6 separate regions of the Homo sapiens genome follow, and all the other regions are linked to region 4. Evidence: promoter capture Hi-C in 16 types of primary human blood cells and fetal thymus (Javierre and others, 2016). All regions are on one chromosome and are shown on one strand. The core of a region is centred on a gene start or on the middle of the fragment in contact, and the rest is flanking DNA. Distances in the headings are between cores, read along the strand shown.

Region 1 (2,700 bases), core at 186-2,685, 410 kb after region 4:
GTTTATCACAACTGAGATTCCAAAATGGTAAAATGCAGAAGCTTCTGGGTGTTCCTGGTTTCCGGGTTCACTGTTGGGTGCTGAGGACCTGGCTGGAATTCCCCTAGTTTTCCTCAGCCCAATCCGGATGCTGACTGCAGCTAACTAATACCTGCTTGTGAGAGTCAGTTGTTAAAATTCCAGGAAACAGCTTGCCATCTGGTTGTTGAACATGTTGGTAGCTTGAAATCAGCCGTGGTGAGAAAGCTTATACTACGCTACAAAACCAGAGTGTTCCTGAGAGCCAGTTGTTAGGCATTCACCAGCACACCTGACCCAACTTTCCCCCTCCATTGGTTCTCCCTGTTGTGTGAAATGTCCAGGCTTCCCCAGGGCCAGCTGTCAGCCACTTTGCTCCTCAATAATACAGCATCCTGGGGCAGGGGCTGCTGAGGCACCGGCGGGTCTCTGATTCTGGTCCCACAACCACAACTCCAGTCTCACAGGGCTGCCTTCTGTTCCTCAGAGATGCCGTCTAGTGTTTTGTCAATCTATGTTTTGTCATACTCCTGCCTCCATCCAGAACATTCTTCTGAAATGCTACCTAATAGTAAGCCCCTGGCCCCCCTTCCTGGTCTCTGCTCACATGGCTCCATGCAGGCCTCCCGGCCCTGGTGCTGCTCTGTGTGGCAGAAAGATGGGTGCCGCTGTTTCCCTGGCTAGGCTGTGCCTGCCTTCAGAGGTGGGCTGGAGTCCACTAACCATCTCAGTGCTTCTCCTACTATTATTAGGCCAGCATTTTTCTCATATTTTGCTCCTGTAATCCTCACGGCACAGACTTTTTCAAATGAGCAAACAGAGGTTGAATAACTTGTATGAGGTAACATAACCAGTAAGTATTCGAGTCTCCATTTGAAAAAAGAGGTTTTTTGGATTCCCCAGGCTAGGGATTTTACCCCTCCCCTCCCCATTCCATTTTCAGACTCAGCCATTTCTCTCTTTCGTACAGAACCTAGCAAAACAGGCTGCACCACGGCATGGATTTAATACCGCTTAGTGAATTAACTAAAACTTCCCTTCTTTTCAGTCATGTATTTTGTAACAAAAATGAAATGGGGATTAGAGAGGAATTAGAGCATGATATTACTTCTGCAAAATCAACACTGTTCTCAGTGAAAGCCTGAGAATATTTAACCTCAGTAGGCACGATGCTAGGTGTTCTCTTCTGAGTGAAACCTTGAGTTTTTGCAAAGGCAATTGAAAAGGTTTCAGCAGAAGAATAGACATGCCCTTGGACTTTCAGCAAAAGAATATTATTTAACAAAAATTTCAGTTATAACATTGCACACATCAAACCTTTTAAGCTTTAGTAGGCTCTTCTGCTTCTTATTCCTATTATAACCAACAGAAACAATTTACAATCTCCCTCAAATTTGAGGGCCATAGGTCCATGTGAGAATGGAAAAATGGATAAGTAAGTAGGCTCTTTCACAATGAATGAGAGATATTTGTAATAGCTTTTCTTGTAATTTCTGATTTAAAGCTTAAAAAATCTGGACGCCCCCTTCCCACTCACACTCAAGAAAAAAATATTAAAAGTAGGAAATAGTAAGAATGTAGAAATGATAATTTCCTATTTCTCAACAGACCTAGTGCTTAATCCTATTTGGACTTGGAAATACGAGCCCACTCATTTTCTGGCCGGGTTTAAACAAAATAAGAGACATCTCCCTATGCCTGTCTTCTTTAAATCCATAAGTGAGCCAACGCCACTCAGCAGTGAAGGAGCTTTCAGTGGGTTGTCCTCTGATTGAAAATCAAGAGCCACATGTGTCTTCTTTCCCATGAAGGTTCCGCCAGGACAACAGTTGGTGAAATTACAGGGGTACCTCTGGCCAGCGTTTTGAAGAACTGTGGTGTTCCTATTCTTTCCCAACTAAGCTCTGATGTGTGCAGACTCCCTGTAATTATGGTATAATTGGATTTAACTATAGGGGTAGAACTAGTTTTCAACCAAGTCCCCTCAAATAATTTGTTGCTTATTAGAAAAAAAGAGAACTTCTGCTGGCTTTAGTGGAGTGTATGTTTGCCCCCCTCCACCTCACTCCATAAGAGAGAAGAGAATTGCTGGTGTGAGCTCTAGCAATTTAGTGGGGTTGGTTTAATCACAGTGCCCTAGCTCTGAATATTCCAGAAAGTTCATTTTCTCTAAAAAGGAAATCCAGAGAGAAGGTGGTACAGAGTCCCAAAGTGAAATGTCTCGGTCTCTCCCATTCCTATGGTTAGGAGATTATTCTGAGTGTCCAGAGTTTGCAAACTGTGTGCTTGAATCTGGGCATGGGCTTATACTATTTGGCCTGCATGATGTTTAGAGTTTTTGTGACTTAGGTGCCACAGATAAGAACTGGGAGATTTCACATAAAAATCTGGATTTCAGCCTCCCTTCAAAAACGAAAAAGGAAAAAAAAATCTGGCCATCCAGGGCCTGAATTCCTTCATTACTACACTTGCTGGACTTGAATCTCTGTGATACTTTAGAGGGGGCAACTAATTCACAATTTACTTTCCAGTGCTCATCACTCGTTTACTGAAACTTCTTGACTCTGCTGGCATTTGAATTTGTATCTTTGTCTCTCTCTCTCTCTCTCTCTCAATCCCCACCCCGCCCCCGCTCCACCTCTCAGCAATATGAACTCATTTTTTATTGAAGGCAGGGTGATG
Region 2 (2,700 bases), core at 119-2,618, 430 kb after region 4:
CCCTCTGCCTTTTCATCTGCACCTGCCTCTCCCTCGAGTGTTCTGTGTTCTCTGTAGCCTTCTCAAGGGGAGACTGCTAATTCTGCTGCATCTCAGCATCAGCCGCTGGCGTTGGCACCATCCCTGCTCCCCATCTTCACTCCCCAAATGATTCAAGTGAAAGTCTTGGCCGCTTTTAGGCTCAAGCTCACTGGCATTGCCAGTGCTCTCCAAAGTGTCTCCAGTGTACTGTGACAAGGGCAGGTCTGCCTCTTAAATGAGTGACACAAGCCCTAGGGGGTTCAGTGGTGAGCTGGAGACCCCATGATGCTCAAAAAGGGCACAGTTGCTCCGCAGTTCACAGTTGAAGGAGATAAACCCTGTGTTCCCAGATCTTTTTTTTTTTTTTTTTTTTTTTTGAGACGGATTCTCACTCTGTCGCCCAGGCTGGAATGCAATGGCGTGATCTCGGCTCACTGCAACCTCCACCTCCCAGGTTCAAGCGATTCTCCTGCCTCAGCCTCCCGAGTAGCTGGGATTACAGGCATGCGCCACCATACCTGCCTAATTTTTTGCATTTTTAGTAGAGACAGAGTTTCTCCATGTTGGTCAGGCTGGTCTCGAACTCCCAACCTTAGGTGATCCTCCCGCCTTGGCCTCCCAAAGTGCTGGGATTACAGGCCTGAGCCACTGTGCCCGGCCTTTTCCCAGATCTTTATAGTTTCTAAGAGAAGGCTTTCAAGGAATCTAGATTTTTATATGAACTTTCCTGATTTTTTTTAAAAATGGTAGATAGTAAACCATCATCAAAAAAAAAAATAAGAAAAAACACCATGACAGCCAAATGAAACCTGGCTATTGGGTCTGAGTTGGCCCACAGGCCTCTGATTAGTGATTTCCACTCTGCATTTCCTCTTCCTCATCTAACACTCTCTTAGTCATTCTCCCCATTCACTAATGACACCAGCATGTGTTACACAGTCTTTTCTTCCATCTGAACCCTGCTTTCATCCTGGGCTTCTTCTGGGCTCATGAAGATGCCCAGCAACACTCGACCCCCCCATTCCTGCATCTTCTCTTCTCAACACGTCCACCCCACCTGGACCTCATCATCCCCTAGGTCACCTCCCACACCACAACCTTCTATCTTTCTACTTCTTGTACTCAATCATTGACATTATTTCTATTTCAAAACTAGGGACTCCCAGACCACTGATCTCTCTCTCTCTCTCTCTCTCTCTCTCTCTTTTCAGTCATACCTTCTCATACCATACCCTCTCAGCTTCATTTTACTTCAACCTCTGTCTTGCTAATATTGTTGCCCTATTGGCTTTCTTTCATACTTGGATGGCAAAACCTCAACCCTGGAGCTAACAAACTATTAGCCTTCTCTGCCAGTGTTGCTGCATGTCATAGAGAAACCCACACGATCTGTAGACTCATTGTACTACTGTCTCCCATTTCCCAGACCCCACTGCTCCCTGCCACTCTCCTGTGATCATTCTAGGCTTCCTTAGTCACCGCTCTCTCTAGTTCTCTAGACTAGATTTTCAGTGCCTTCTTCACTCTCCTCCACTCCTCAAATATTTGGCCTTCACAAGTTAAGCATTTGACATTGCTTCCTACTTCACAGAAAGTGTAGAACCCAGAGATGGAAACATCCCACCCCTTAACTCAGTGCCATCAAACCTACAACTTACCTACATCTGCCACCATGCCTCTTTTCTTCACTTCTGATTTTATGGAAGAGGAGCCTCTCTCTGTCTGAGCTTATCCCTTTTTTTGTCCTCTGGAGTTTTTCTCTCCTACCTCCTTAGCAGCCTGGCTTGATCACTTTTCCCTTTCTCTTCCCTGTCCCTTCACCCTGTCCCTCTCTCTTTTCCCCTCTCTCTATCAGGACCTAAACATGTTTAAGCCTTCCGTCTTGTATATTCAATTCCTTGCTGGCCCCATGGCACTTTTCAGCCACCGCTTTCTCTTTAAAAAGGCATCTGTATCTGTCGCTCAGCTTCTTTACTTCCCATTCTGTATTCTACCCACTGCAAGCTGGCTTCTGCCCTTATTGTTCTGCTGAAACTGCTCTCAGCAAGGTTGTAGATGACTACTTTATTGCTGAATCCAATGGCAACTTTTAAGTCATTATCTTCCTTGACCTCTCTGCAGCGGCTGACACTGTTGGTCCTTTCCTGCATACTGAAAAACTCTTTTCCTGGGCTTCCATCACCACGTGCAGCAGCTGGATTTCCCCACCTCTTCAGACTCCTTCATGGGCTTCTCTTTCTTTGCTCACTTTTAAATACTAATGTTGGTTCGGTCCTACTGGTCTTATTTGTCCATGCTCAGGTCTTATTCATGTGCACGCCTGAGGTTATCTCAGTATTCTGTAACTTGTGTGGGGAGATTGAGATAGACCAGGAGGGGTAGGATGCAGATTTTATGATGGGGAACAGCAGAAATGAGATTGGCCAGGCATAGTGGTACCAGATGATGAAGAGACTGAGGAGTCAGCAAGGGAGAGTTTAATTTGCTGAAAGTGACAACAGGGGGACAAGCCTTGGGTCTAGGTTGTTAGTATCTAAGATGCTGAAGCCTTCCCTCCTTTTGTATAATGAAGCATTTGTCTGGCCTTTGTCCTGCGTTCCTGGGATGGAACTTCTAAACAAACCCTCTAACTTTCCCAGGTGATAAGACTGTCTGTTATTCATAGTGAGCCCTTGGGAC
Region 3 (2,700 bases), core at 145-2,644, 420 kb before region 4:
AGATGGAAAATCAAGATCCAGAGAAGTGAAGGAGCTTGTTCATGGTTAGACAGCTAGTGAGTGGCAAACCTGGGCAAGACTCTGTTTCCTAACTCCTAATCTAGTTCTCACCACTAAGTTGGTTATAATCTTGTGGTTAAGAAACAGCAGTCATTTGACCAGAAATCAATACAATAGATTGACTCTAAGCAAATAAATGAAGAGTTATGATTTGTTCTTTTTCTTCTTCTTTCTTTCTTTTTGCTTTCTTCTTCTTTTATTTATTTATTTATTTTTTGGACAGATTCTTGCTCTTTGCTCTGTCACCCAGGCTATAGTGCAGTGGCGCAATCTCAGCTCACTGCAACCTCTGCTTCTGGGGTTCAAGCGATTCTCATGCCTCAGCCTCCAGAGTGGTGGGGACTGCAGGCTCACTGCAACCCCCACCTCCCGGTTTCAAGCGATCCTCCTGCCTCGGCCTCCCAAAGTGCTGGGATTAAGGTGTGCACCATCGTGCCTGGCCTAAACAGGACATTTTTAAAAGATTGAGGTAAGCTTTGTTGGATCTATAATAAGAACAAGTGTTAGAAATCAATTAATTCGTACAAATTCCATCCCAGGATTCTTCCTAGTATGTATTTCTTTATTCATCACTTAAAACACCCAGATAAATGGCCCCAGAATTTCTTTAAGAGTTCTTTCTGTGCAGGGACCAATACCATCTCTAGATAGAGATGTCCCTTGTGCATTAAGTCATCTTGCCTAAAACCAGCTAGGTCAAGATTGGGCTGGTTGAGAATTCTAATTGATCATCTTAACTGGTTAAAATTCTACTGATTGGGAAATAAAAATATCTACTCCAGCTGCTGGTTTTCCAAACTCTGAGAGGACAAAGGTTTAGAGATGGCCAGCCTAGACCTCCCTGGGCAGGCTGAGGTGTCCTGGCTTCCCACTGCCTCTCTCAGCTGGCTCAAATGGCAACTAATGTTGCCAATCATGAGATCCTAGCCCAGTCAGATAGGAGGGGAGCCTCTTGCAGAGAAGTCCTGGGACCCCCATGGTACAACACTGCATTTGCTCTCATTATACTCTGTTGCCCATTTCTCATTCTCAAGCCATATGGTTCAGTTTTGTTCTCATTTCAGGACCTACCCATCAGCAAGCCTGCTACAAATGAACCTCACCTTAGGGAAAAATATATACTCTTCAAAAATAGAGAGACAGAATGTAATTTTGTAAATGGAATTCTATTTTGAAATTATCAGTGGGTTTCTGAGTTTACTGGCAAAACAGAAGGGATAAGAATTTGAAATAGGGATAACCAACCTCTAGTTGACCTTATACATGGAAACTGTATCCCAGTTATTTTATAATAGGCTGTGTCCTTGGTTGTGGTTATCCAGACAATTCTGCTTTGGCCTCCAAAATTATCAGGTAGAGGAGCACAAGGAATAGCGTTTAGTCTAAATTATCTCCCCTGCCCCCCTCCTGCCTTTTTTTTTTTTTTTTTTTTTTTGGAGACAGAGTCTCACTTCCTCATCCAGGCTGTATGCAGTGGATCCATCTAGGCTCACTGCAACCTCTGCCTCTGAGGTTCAAGCAATTCTCCTACCTTGGCCTCCCGAGTAGCTGGGATTAAAGGCGCCCCCCACCACACAGGCCCGGCTAACTTTTGTATTTTTAGTAGACACGGGGTTTCACCATGTTGACCAGGCTGGTCTTGAACTCTTAACCTCAAGTGATCCATCCGCCTTGGCCTCCCAAAGTGCTGGGATTACCAGCAGGCATGAGCTGCCGCGCCTGCCCCCCCTTTTTTTCCTAACTTAATACTGTACTTTTTCTGAGTAAAAGCTAGGTTTAAGAAAATTATTTGATACAACAACTAAATAAACTTGAACTTTGGCAAATCCTAGAGATGAGTCAGAGGTTAGTGGTTTTTAATCTTTCCATTTGTAAGGGACACCTCTTATTCCCTTCACATAGCCAATGTTCTGAAAGATTCTGTCTGACAAACAAATTGTATTTATTAAGGATAATGCCTTCGTTTTCCCAGTCAGAGTTTCTTCTCAGTTTGTGACAGCCTGGAGCTGATTTAATTCCAGCCAAAGGTAAGGAAATCTGATGTGGGGTTAGCCTGTGCAACCACTTTCAGAAGATTTTATGATTTGGTATTTTAAATACTAAACATATCTCAAGGTCACCAATGACGACTTTCATAGCTAAGGGCCCTGGGACCCCAGGTTTCATACCATCCCCCTGTTTAACTTCAAGCTTGCTGTACAGAACCAAAGAGGCTGAATACTTTCCACCAAAAGGAGGATCTGGCACGGTTGGGTTCCACTTGCCGGGCATTCAAGGACAGTAATGGAGAAGTCATGGAGGCTTGTTCACTGCAAACCCATAATGTACACCCAGGCAATGTTGAGTCACTTCCCTGATATTAAAACCTTTAATCCTGACAACCTGATGAGGTGGATAATGTGTGCTGCTCCATTTTACAGATGAGTAAACTGAGGCACTAGGAGGTAAAGTGGCTTGTTGGCCAAGGCCAAGCTTGCACAGCTACCCTGGCAGAGCTGAGATTTTCATCCAGGCAGTCTAACTCCAAACCCCCTACTCTTAACCCTCTTCTATACTCCAGTCTTGTGAGAAACCCACAACCTCTGTGCCTAAACTGAACAGGAGAGAGATTCCTTGGGCTAATGACCATAACTGTTCACA
Region 4 (2,700 bases), core at 28-2,527:
AGAGCGGATTTTCAATGTTCCCAACGCAAAGAATTGATGTTTGAGATGATGAATATGCTAATTACCCGGATTTGATCATTACACATTGGGTACATGTATTGTTATCAAAATATCACACTGTATCCCACAAATATGTACAATCATTTTATGTAAGTTAAAAATAATTATAAAAACAGGCCAAGCGCGGTGGTTCACGCCTGTAATTCCAGCACTTTGGGAGGCCAAGGCGGGCAGATCACCCGAGGTCAGTAGTTCGAGACCACCCTAGCTAACATGGTGAAACCCCGTCTCAACTAAAAATACAAAAAATTGATCGGGTGTGATGGCGGGCGCCTGTAATCCCAGCTACACGGGAAGCTGAGGCAGGAGAATCGCTTAAGCCCGGGAGACGGAGGTTGCAGTGAGCTGAGATCGCGCCACTGCACTCCAGCCTGGGCGACAAAGCGAGACTCTGTCTTAAAAAAAAAAAATTATATATATACATATATATATGTGTGTCTACAAAAAATTCCTAGATCTCTGACCACACAAAAATCCGCCCCCATAGCTGGGCGCGGTGGCTCACGCCTGTAATCCCAGCACTTTGGGAGGCCGAGGTGGGTGGATCACCTGAGGTCAGGAGTTCAAGACCAGCCTGGCCAACATGGTGAAACCCCATCTCTACTAAAAATACAAAAAATCAGCCGGGCTTGGTGGCGGGCGCCTGTAATCCCAGCTACACGGGAGGCTGAGGCAGGAGCATCGCTTGAACCCGGGAGGAGACAGAGGTTGCAGTGAGCCAAGATCGCGCCATTGCACTCCAGCCTGGGCGACAGAGCGAAACACCGTCTTAAAAAAAAAAAAAAAATCCTCCCCCACACAACGGGCGTGCCTCTTAGCAGGAAATTACAGGCTCAACAAAAAGGCCCGTGAAGCACTCCATCTCCCGGCGGGATGGCGCCAGAATCTCCCCGGCCGAGCACAGCGGGAGCCAGGGAATAGTGGGAAAAGGCCGGAGCAGCACTATCTGGGAGACCAGAGGACCAAACTCGAGGATACATCTCTGGCGACTGGGGAGCCCTGCCACGCCCCTTCAGACCTGTCATAGAAGGGATGCTCCTCGCCGAAATCTCGAAGATGTTTCTTCTGCTTTTTAGTTAGGGTGTTGAGTAGCTGGCTCTGGCTCCGGCTCCCGCGTTTGCCCATAGCGAAAACGTCAAGTTTGCCCACTTGCAAGAGTCGCGGTTTTCCACCAGGAAGTTGTCCAGTCAACACAAGCACGTGGGCTCGCTGACTGCGCTTTACGGCGAAAGCAAGGTGCCATAAAGCAGATCCGCTTTACGTCGCGCTCGTACGACAGGCTTAGAACATCCGGTTCCCGGTTCTGCCCCCTACCGCAGCTCTTTGAAAGCACGGGAGTTCGTTCACTAGTGTTCTCAGAGCCCTAGAACGTGGGCAGCTGGGCTTCCCGGGTTGCGTGAGTCGGGGGCATGAGCTTTGTGCTTGTGTTTTGGTTATGGAAATCAGTCTGCGTAAATGTGTAGTAGCGGAGATAGTCGAATGCAGTGACTTTACAGTATACTGCAATAAAAATATCAACCAACATTTAAGGGTGCCTGAACATCTCACTTCATCACCACAACAGTGTACAGATAGGTCTTGTTAATAAGCCTGGTGTTGCAGATAAGGAAACTGATGCTTAGAAAAGATAACACGCTAGCGGCCGGGCGCGGTGGCTCACGCCTGTAATCTCAACACTTTGGGAGGCCGAGATGGGCGGATCACCTGAGGTCAGGAGTTCGAGACCAGCATGGCCAAACATGGTGAAACCCCGTCTCTACTAAAAGTACAAAAATCAGCCGGGCGTGGTAGCGGGCGCCTGTAATCCCAGCTACTCAGGAGGTGAGGCAGGAGAATCGCTGGAACCCGGGAGGTGGAGGTTGCAATGAGCCGAGATCACTCCACTGCACTCCAGCCTACTCCAGCCTGGGCGACAAAAGCTAGACTCCATCTCGAAAAAAAAAAAAAAGAAGAAAAGAAAAGAAAAGATAACACGCTAGCAAGAGAAGAGAGAAAAACCTTAACTGATGCAACCACATGCTTTTACCCATTAGGGTCTGCCGCCTGTGTGTGTTATATCAATCATGGGGCCCACAAGTCTGAGATTCCCACCCTCACCCTATTCTCGCATTTTCTGAAAGTATTGGAAGAGTCCCCGCAAACAAATCTGTTCCAGCATTCCCCATTTAACAACAGCAGAAACACATCTAGAGAGGTAAAGTGACTTTACTGAAATCACCCCAGTCAATGCTAGAAAAGGCTGTGAAACCCAATCCAGTGTCTCATAACTGAACTCGGACAAAAGGGGATGGAAAAGCTTTTGAAGGTAAAGGAACCATCTTACATTTTGATCATGCTAGTAGTTACACCTTGTATACATAAGAAAAGTTAAACTGTACAGTTAAAATGGGTGAATTTTAATGTATTTAAATAACACCTAAATAAACAGGAAAAAGCAAAAATATAAAAGTAGACTCAGTATTCTAGGGATTTGCAAGTGTGCAGGGCTGCTTGAGACCACAGGATAAAGATGGTGAGATCCTTTTCCTAATAGTAACTTATGCTACCATGTTCTATAGAAACAGAGTGCTTAAATCATAAGCCGCAGAATTCACTTGAATATTTACGGTAAAACAGGAGCGTCCAAAATGAGAGAAATGA
Region 5 (2,700 bases), core at 177-2,676, 490 kb before region 4:
AATCACCTTCACTAAAAGGAAGACAGGAAGGAAAGAAGGAAGAGAAGACCACAAAACAACCAGAAACAAATAACAAAATGGCAGGAGTAAGTCCTTACTTATCAATTATAACACTGAATGTAAATGAACTAAATTCTCCAATCAAAAGATATAAGAGTGGCTGAATGGCTTTAAAAAACCAGAGGCTACACTTCTCAGCCTGTCAGATGGCCACCCTGCAGGATGTAACCCTTTATAAGAAATAAAGTCTCCTTTCTAAATGTATAAAAAATGTGTGATTTTTTAAGCCAACACGTCAGAATTTCCTTCCTTTTTAAAACTGATAATATTCCATTGTATGTATGTCACACATTTTTTCCATTTATCTATCTATGGATTCTTGAGTTGCTTTCTTCTTTTGGCTGTTGTGAATAATGCTGCCATGAACACGGATATACAAACATCTCTTTAAGACCCTGCATTCGATTCTTTTGAGTATATACCCAGAAGTGAAATTGCTGAATCATATGGTAATTCTGTTTTTAATTTTACGAAGAATTGCCATACTATTTTCCATAGAGGCTGTGCCATTTTACATTCCCATCAACAGCGCAATTTCTCCATATCCTCACCAACACTTGTTATTTTTTGATGTGTTTTTATACTAGCCATTCTAATCAGTATGAGGTAGTATCTCCTTGTAGTTTTAATTTACATTTCCCTAATGATTAGTGATGTTGATCATCTTTTCATATGCTTATTGGTCATTTACATACCTTCTCTGGAGAACTGTCTAATCAAGTCCTATGCCCATTTTTAAAATTGTATTGTTTGTTTTCTTGTTAAGTTGTAGGAGTTCTTTGTACATTCTGGATATTAATCCCTCATCAAATATATGATTTGCAAATACGTTCTCTCATCCTGTGGCTTGTCTTTTCACTCTGCTGATTGTGTCCCTTGATGCACAGACATTTTAGTTTTGGTGAAGTCTAATTTAACTATTTTTTCTTTTGTTGCTGGTTTTTTGTTTATGTTTTTATTTTGTTTTTTGAAACAGGGCCTCACTCTGTCACCAAGGCTGTAATGCAATGGCACATTCATAGCTCACTGCAGCCTCCGTCTCCAGGGCTCAAGTGATCCTTGTGCCTTAGCCTCCCAAGTAGCTGGGACTATCAGAATGTGCCACCATGCCCAGCTAATTGTTTTTATCTCTTTTTTTTTGAGACAGAGTTTCGCTCTTATTAAGCCCAGGCTGGAGTGCAATGGCACGATCTCAGCTCACCACAACCTCCGCCTCCTGGGTTCAAGCAATGCTCCTGCCTCAGCCTCTCAAGTAGCTGAGATTACAGGCACACACCACCACGCCTGGCTAATTTTTGTATTTTTAGTAGAGACGGGGTTTCACCATGTTGGTTAGGCTGGTCTCGAACTCCTGACCTCGTGATCCACCCGCCTCGGGCTCCCAAAGTGCTGGGATTACAGGCATGAGCCACCATGCCCGGCCGTTTTTATCTTTAGTAGAGAGAAGGCCTCACTATGGTGCCCAGGCTGGTCTCGAACTACTGAGCTCAAGTGATCCTCCCACCTTGGCCTCTCAAAGTGCTGAGATTACAGGCATGAGCCATCATGCCTGGCCAGTTGCTGGTATTTTTAATGTCATATCCAAGAAACCAATGTCATGAAGTTTTTTCCTATATTTTCCTCTGAAAATTTTATAATTTTAATTCTTATGATTAGGGGTTTCATCTATTTCAAGTTAATTTTTGTATTTGGTGTTAGGTAAGGGTCCAGCTTCAATCTTTTGCATATGGTGATCCAACTTTCCCAATACCACTTGTTAAAAAGCATTAACATCTTTCAAATGCCAGATATTGGAGTAAAAGGAATGGATGGTAGGAAACTAAGTTCTTTTTGGAAATGAGAAATAAGATCAATGGAGTAAACCAACGTCAAAGTCTAAACACCAGGAGAAAAGTTGGGTTGGGGAGAGTGTAGATGGGAGGAGAGGGAGAAGAGGGAGATTCTCCCCCACCTTTAATGCTTCACACACCGGCAGAAGTGTCTGAACGTTGAGGATCTCTGCTTGTCTTGGAGAAGTAAGGCCTCTGGATCTTCCCGACTTGGAGCCGGAGCAGCCAGCCCTGAGGCAAGACGTGACCGGACATGCCTTGGCTTGAAACGCTTCAGTTCTGACTACAAGCAAAGCCAAGGAGAGTCCTCCCTGGAGTTGAGAAGCAAACTAGAAATAGAGTAAATAGAGCAAAATTATGATAATTGAGGTTTAAAGGAGGGAACCAATTTGTGCCTTGGTATTGTATTTCCTTGAAAGCAAAAATACCAAAATTAGTATGTAAATGTGAGTAATTAATGGTCAGTTCCTCTCTATACTATTATTTTAATCATAAGTCATTAATCAGGCACCTGCACTGGGTGTGTTTTCTCTCTGACTCTCTCAGTTAGTGGAATCTAAGTATTCCACTGGGGCCTCCCATCCAGACAGGCAGACCTGAGTGCCTGGTAGCAACTCTCCAGACAGCAAAACTGGTGCTTAGGAAGGATTAACCAGGCCAATCCTCCTTTTAAGTTCAGCCGTGACTCAGCCATACAATTATACTCATTCAACAGAGGCATAAATGGTTGCTAAGACTTCATTGATAAAGGCTTTAAGACAAAGGAGTGAATTTCTGATTACGAAGATTCACACTCAAGGAGCAATCACGA
Region 6 (2,700 bases), core at 159-2,658, 280 kb after region 4:
AGGGAGGTCTGGGAGGGTGTGCTTAAGGGTTCAGAGCAGAGTCAAGTTGAGGTAAGAAAAGACAAGGGAAATGTTTGTTTGTCCTCGGCCCATTGTGGACCTTTGGCCTGCTCTGAACAATTGGCTTCCTGTGCTGGACAAAGGGGTGTAGGCAGGCCGCCCTAGTACCCTTTGTTCTGGACACATTGTAGGGATGTAGCTCAGCAGCAGAAGCTCTCCAATCCATCTCCTTCATTTGAAACATGTACTAATTTTTTAAAGTATTGATTTTCACTTTGGAAAAATTAAAGAATTGAAAACACAAATAATTCATAACGTTAGCAGCCAGTAACACAGTGCCCATCCTTAGTTCTCTCTCTCTCTACACACACACACACACACACACACACACACACACACACACACAGGCATGCAGGCACACACAGAAGATTAGATTAGGCTATTTTTCTCACTTGGCAATATATTTGAACATCTCTTCTTGTCGATAAATATGAATCGATATCATCAATTTTAATGGCTTCATAGTAATTTTATTGTGTGAACATAACATAAATTATTTAACAATTCCTATTGTTTGAACTTTAAATTTCTTTCCCTTTTTAAGTTTGCTATAAGTAATGCTTTGATGGAAATAGTATTATGCATAGATATTTGCACCTTACCTTATTATTTCCTAGAATATAATGATTTTACAGCTTTTGATATATATTACCATATTATTCTCTAGAATTTGTTGTTCTCGCCTATTCCCAAAAGCAGTGAATAGATGTCCATTTCCCACCCCCCATGCTGACACCAGGCATTATAATTCTTTTTAATCTTAGCCATCTGAAAAGTAAAAAGGACATATCATTGTTTTAAGTCATATTTCTTTCCACCGAGGCTGAAAATGGTTTACATTTTTTATTGTCATTTACATTTCTTCTTTCATGATTTGCTTTTACATATCATTCTGCTATTTTACCCCCCATGGTGCATATATTAGTTTCCTAGGGCTGCCATAACAAATTACTACAAACTTGGTGGCTTAAAGCAACAGAAATATATTCTTTCATAGTTCTAGACGCTAGATATCTGAAATCAAGGTGTTGGTAGGGCTACGTTCCCTCTGAAGACTCTTAAGAAAGAATTCTTCCTTGCCTCTTTCTAGCTTCTGGGGTTTGCTGGCATTCTTTGGTATTCCTTGGCTTACAGCTGCATTACTCAATTTCTGTCGCCTTCAGACAACTGTCTTCTCTCCATGCTTATCTGTGTGTCTCTAAATCTTCATCTCCTTATAAGGACACCAATTATTGGATTTAGGGCATACTCTAATGCAGTATTTCATCTTAAATTGACTGCATCTGCAAAGACCCTACTTCCAAATCAGGTTGTGTTCATTGGCCCTAGGGCATTAGGACTTGAACATATATTTTTAGGGGACACAATTCAGTCCCCTACAATGTGCTTGACTTTTTCTTATTAATTTGTAATAGCTTTATGCTTCACCTTTTAGATCCACTGACTCACACCTGCCTCTCTGCTTGTCCAGAGAGGTACAGAGAAGTAATGACTTGGACTTGAGGAAGGTAGGTTCTTTTGGTTAACCACAGTGTGAGTCATGAGTATTGTGGGTCTTAGGAGTTCCTGCATTAACCCTTTATTTCTGGAGAAGATAAGTGGTGGTGGGAGGGAGAGAGGAGGGCATTGTTTCTGGTGCTCTATGAGTGGCTGTTGGCAGATCTACCACTAACAGGTCAGTTTGGTAGGTGGACAATGATTGGGATAGGAGAGAGACTGAGCCAGCAGTGATAGTCTCTGAATCATAAATTGGTAAATGAATGACCCCTGAGGCTGGGTAGGAGTCATCCAGCTCTATCAGGACTTTCTGGGTTTATTTGAGATTGTTTTGCTAATAGTGGTTTCTTAAAAGCATCATGCATTTTCTTTCCTGCTTCTTAAGCACTCAGACATTTCAATGGCAGCTTAGCCCTGAACTTACAGGTTTCTTGCACTTGAATGGATCATGTTCATAGTAAGAAGCAGAATGATTGGAAGCTAAGAAGACTCTCTGCTGTCCTTGACCTCTGCAAGTTGCTTTCTGAGATGGGTAGCAGAATAAAGAAGAATTGGCTCAAATTTCCAGTTTGGTTAAGCTGAAGCAGTAGTCTAGTGGGGAGTTTCATTAGGGGCCCAGATCCAGATCCTTCTCTTCAGCACCGTTGCCTCTGAAGAACAGCTCTGCAGAGTGAAGAGCAATATGGGGTTCCTGAGAGTTCTAGGGTCTCTATAAGTGGGAAAGGCCTTGTTCCAAGGTGACAAGGGGCCAGTGTGTCAGGTAGTCTGCTCTCTAGTGGGCCTGGGGCAAGAACAAGTGTGGGCAGCTCAACCTGTATCTTTCACTTGGGTGGCAAGTGGCATCAGGGCTGGAGGAGAGAGTTGGGATGGAGGATGGTGTCCCATGTCTACCACTGCCAGCTCCTGCTCAGAAAAGAATGTCAGCATCAGATTCAAGTGACTTCCTGAAGCTGAAAGCCTACTATGACAAAAGCGTTGGAATAGAAAACTCCTAAATTTAGGAGAAAATATAGGCCTGGATTTGAACCCCAGTTCTGCAATTTACTAGCTGAGTATCATGAGTTAATTTTCTTAATCTCTTTACATTTCAATTCTGTTTTGTAAAAGTAAGACAGTATTTTGGTAAACTGTTTATAGAATAAA

The links. Contacts are between HindIII fragments. The CHiCAGO score rates a contact against its expected background, and 5 or more counts as called.
Region 1: a contact is called between a fragment that was not itself captured here and the fragment with the promoter of UTP25 in region 4, in 1 of 17 cell types (monocytes). The highest score is 5.8, in monocytes.
Region 2: a fragment that was not itself captured here is called in contact with the fragment with the promoter of UTP25 in region 4 in 1 of 17 cell types (monocytes); the score reaches 5.3 in monocytes.
Region 3: a fragment that was not itself captured here is called in contact with the fragment with the promoter of UTP25 in region 4 in 2 of 17 cell types (endothelial precursors and naive B cells); the score reaches 6.9 in endothelial precursors.
Region 5: a contact is called between a fragment that was not itself captured here and the fragment with the promoter of UTP25 in region 4, in 10 of 17 cell types (fetal thymus, total B cells, total CD8 T cells and 7 more). The highest score is 17.2, in fetal thymus.
Region 6: a fragment that was not itself captured here is called in contact with the fragment with the promoter of UTP25 in region 4 in 1 of 17 cell types (neutrophils); the score reaches 5.6 in neutrophils.

What each region holds. Positions count from the first base shown.
Region 1 is chr1:209,418,862-209,421,561 of GRCh38, reverse strand. No RefSeq gene overlaps it. Among named protein-coding and RNA genes, the nearest start is that of MIR205HG, 8.6 kb to the left of the region's middle. The HindIII fragment of the contact is 179 bases long and covers 1,346-1,524 here.
Region 2 is chr1:209,401,103-209,403,802 of GRCh38, reverse strand. No RefSeq gene overlaps it. Among named protein-coding and RNA genes, the nearest start is that of MIR205HG, 26 kb to the left of the region's middle. RefSeq lists enhancers at 1-94, 1-192. The HindIII fragment of the contact is 5,993 bases long and covers 1-2,700 here.
Region 3 is chr1:210,247,737-210,250,436 of GRCh38, reverse strand. No RefSeq gene overlaps it. Among named protein-coding and RNA genes, the nearest start is that of SERTAD4-AS1, 15 kb to the right of the region's middle. The HindIII fragment of the contact is 1,716 bases long and covers 537-2,252 here.
Region 4 is chr1:209,826,549-209,829,248 of GRCh38, reverse strand. UTP25 (UTP25 small subunit processome component) reads right to left here and starts at 1,277. Exons shown (of 12, transcript NM_014388.7): 1 at 1,079-1,277. The coding sequence starts at 1,185. RefSeq lists an enhancer at 1,188-1,237. The HindIII fragment of the contact is 3,327 bases long and covers 1-2,358 here.
Region 5 is chr1:210,321,148-210,323,847 of GRCh38, reverse strand. No RefSeq gene overlaps it. Among named protein-coding and RNA genes, the nearest start is that of HHAT, 6.4 kb to the left of the region's middle. The HindIII fragment of the contact is 7,025 bases long and covers 1-2,700 here.
Region 6 is chr1:209,541,714-209,544,413 of GRCh38, reverse strand. It overlaps LOC105372898 (a long non-coding RNA gene), which reads left to right and starts at 1,496. Exons shown (of 7, transcript XR_922535.3): 1 at 1,496-1,568. RefSeq lists a silencer at 1,704-1,904. The HindIII fragment of the contact is 6,088 bases long and covers 1-2,700 here.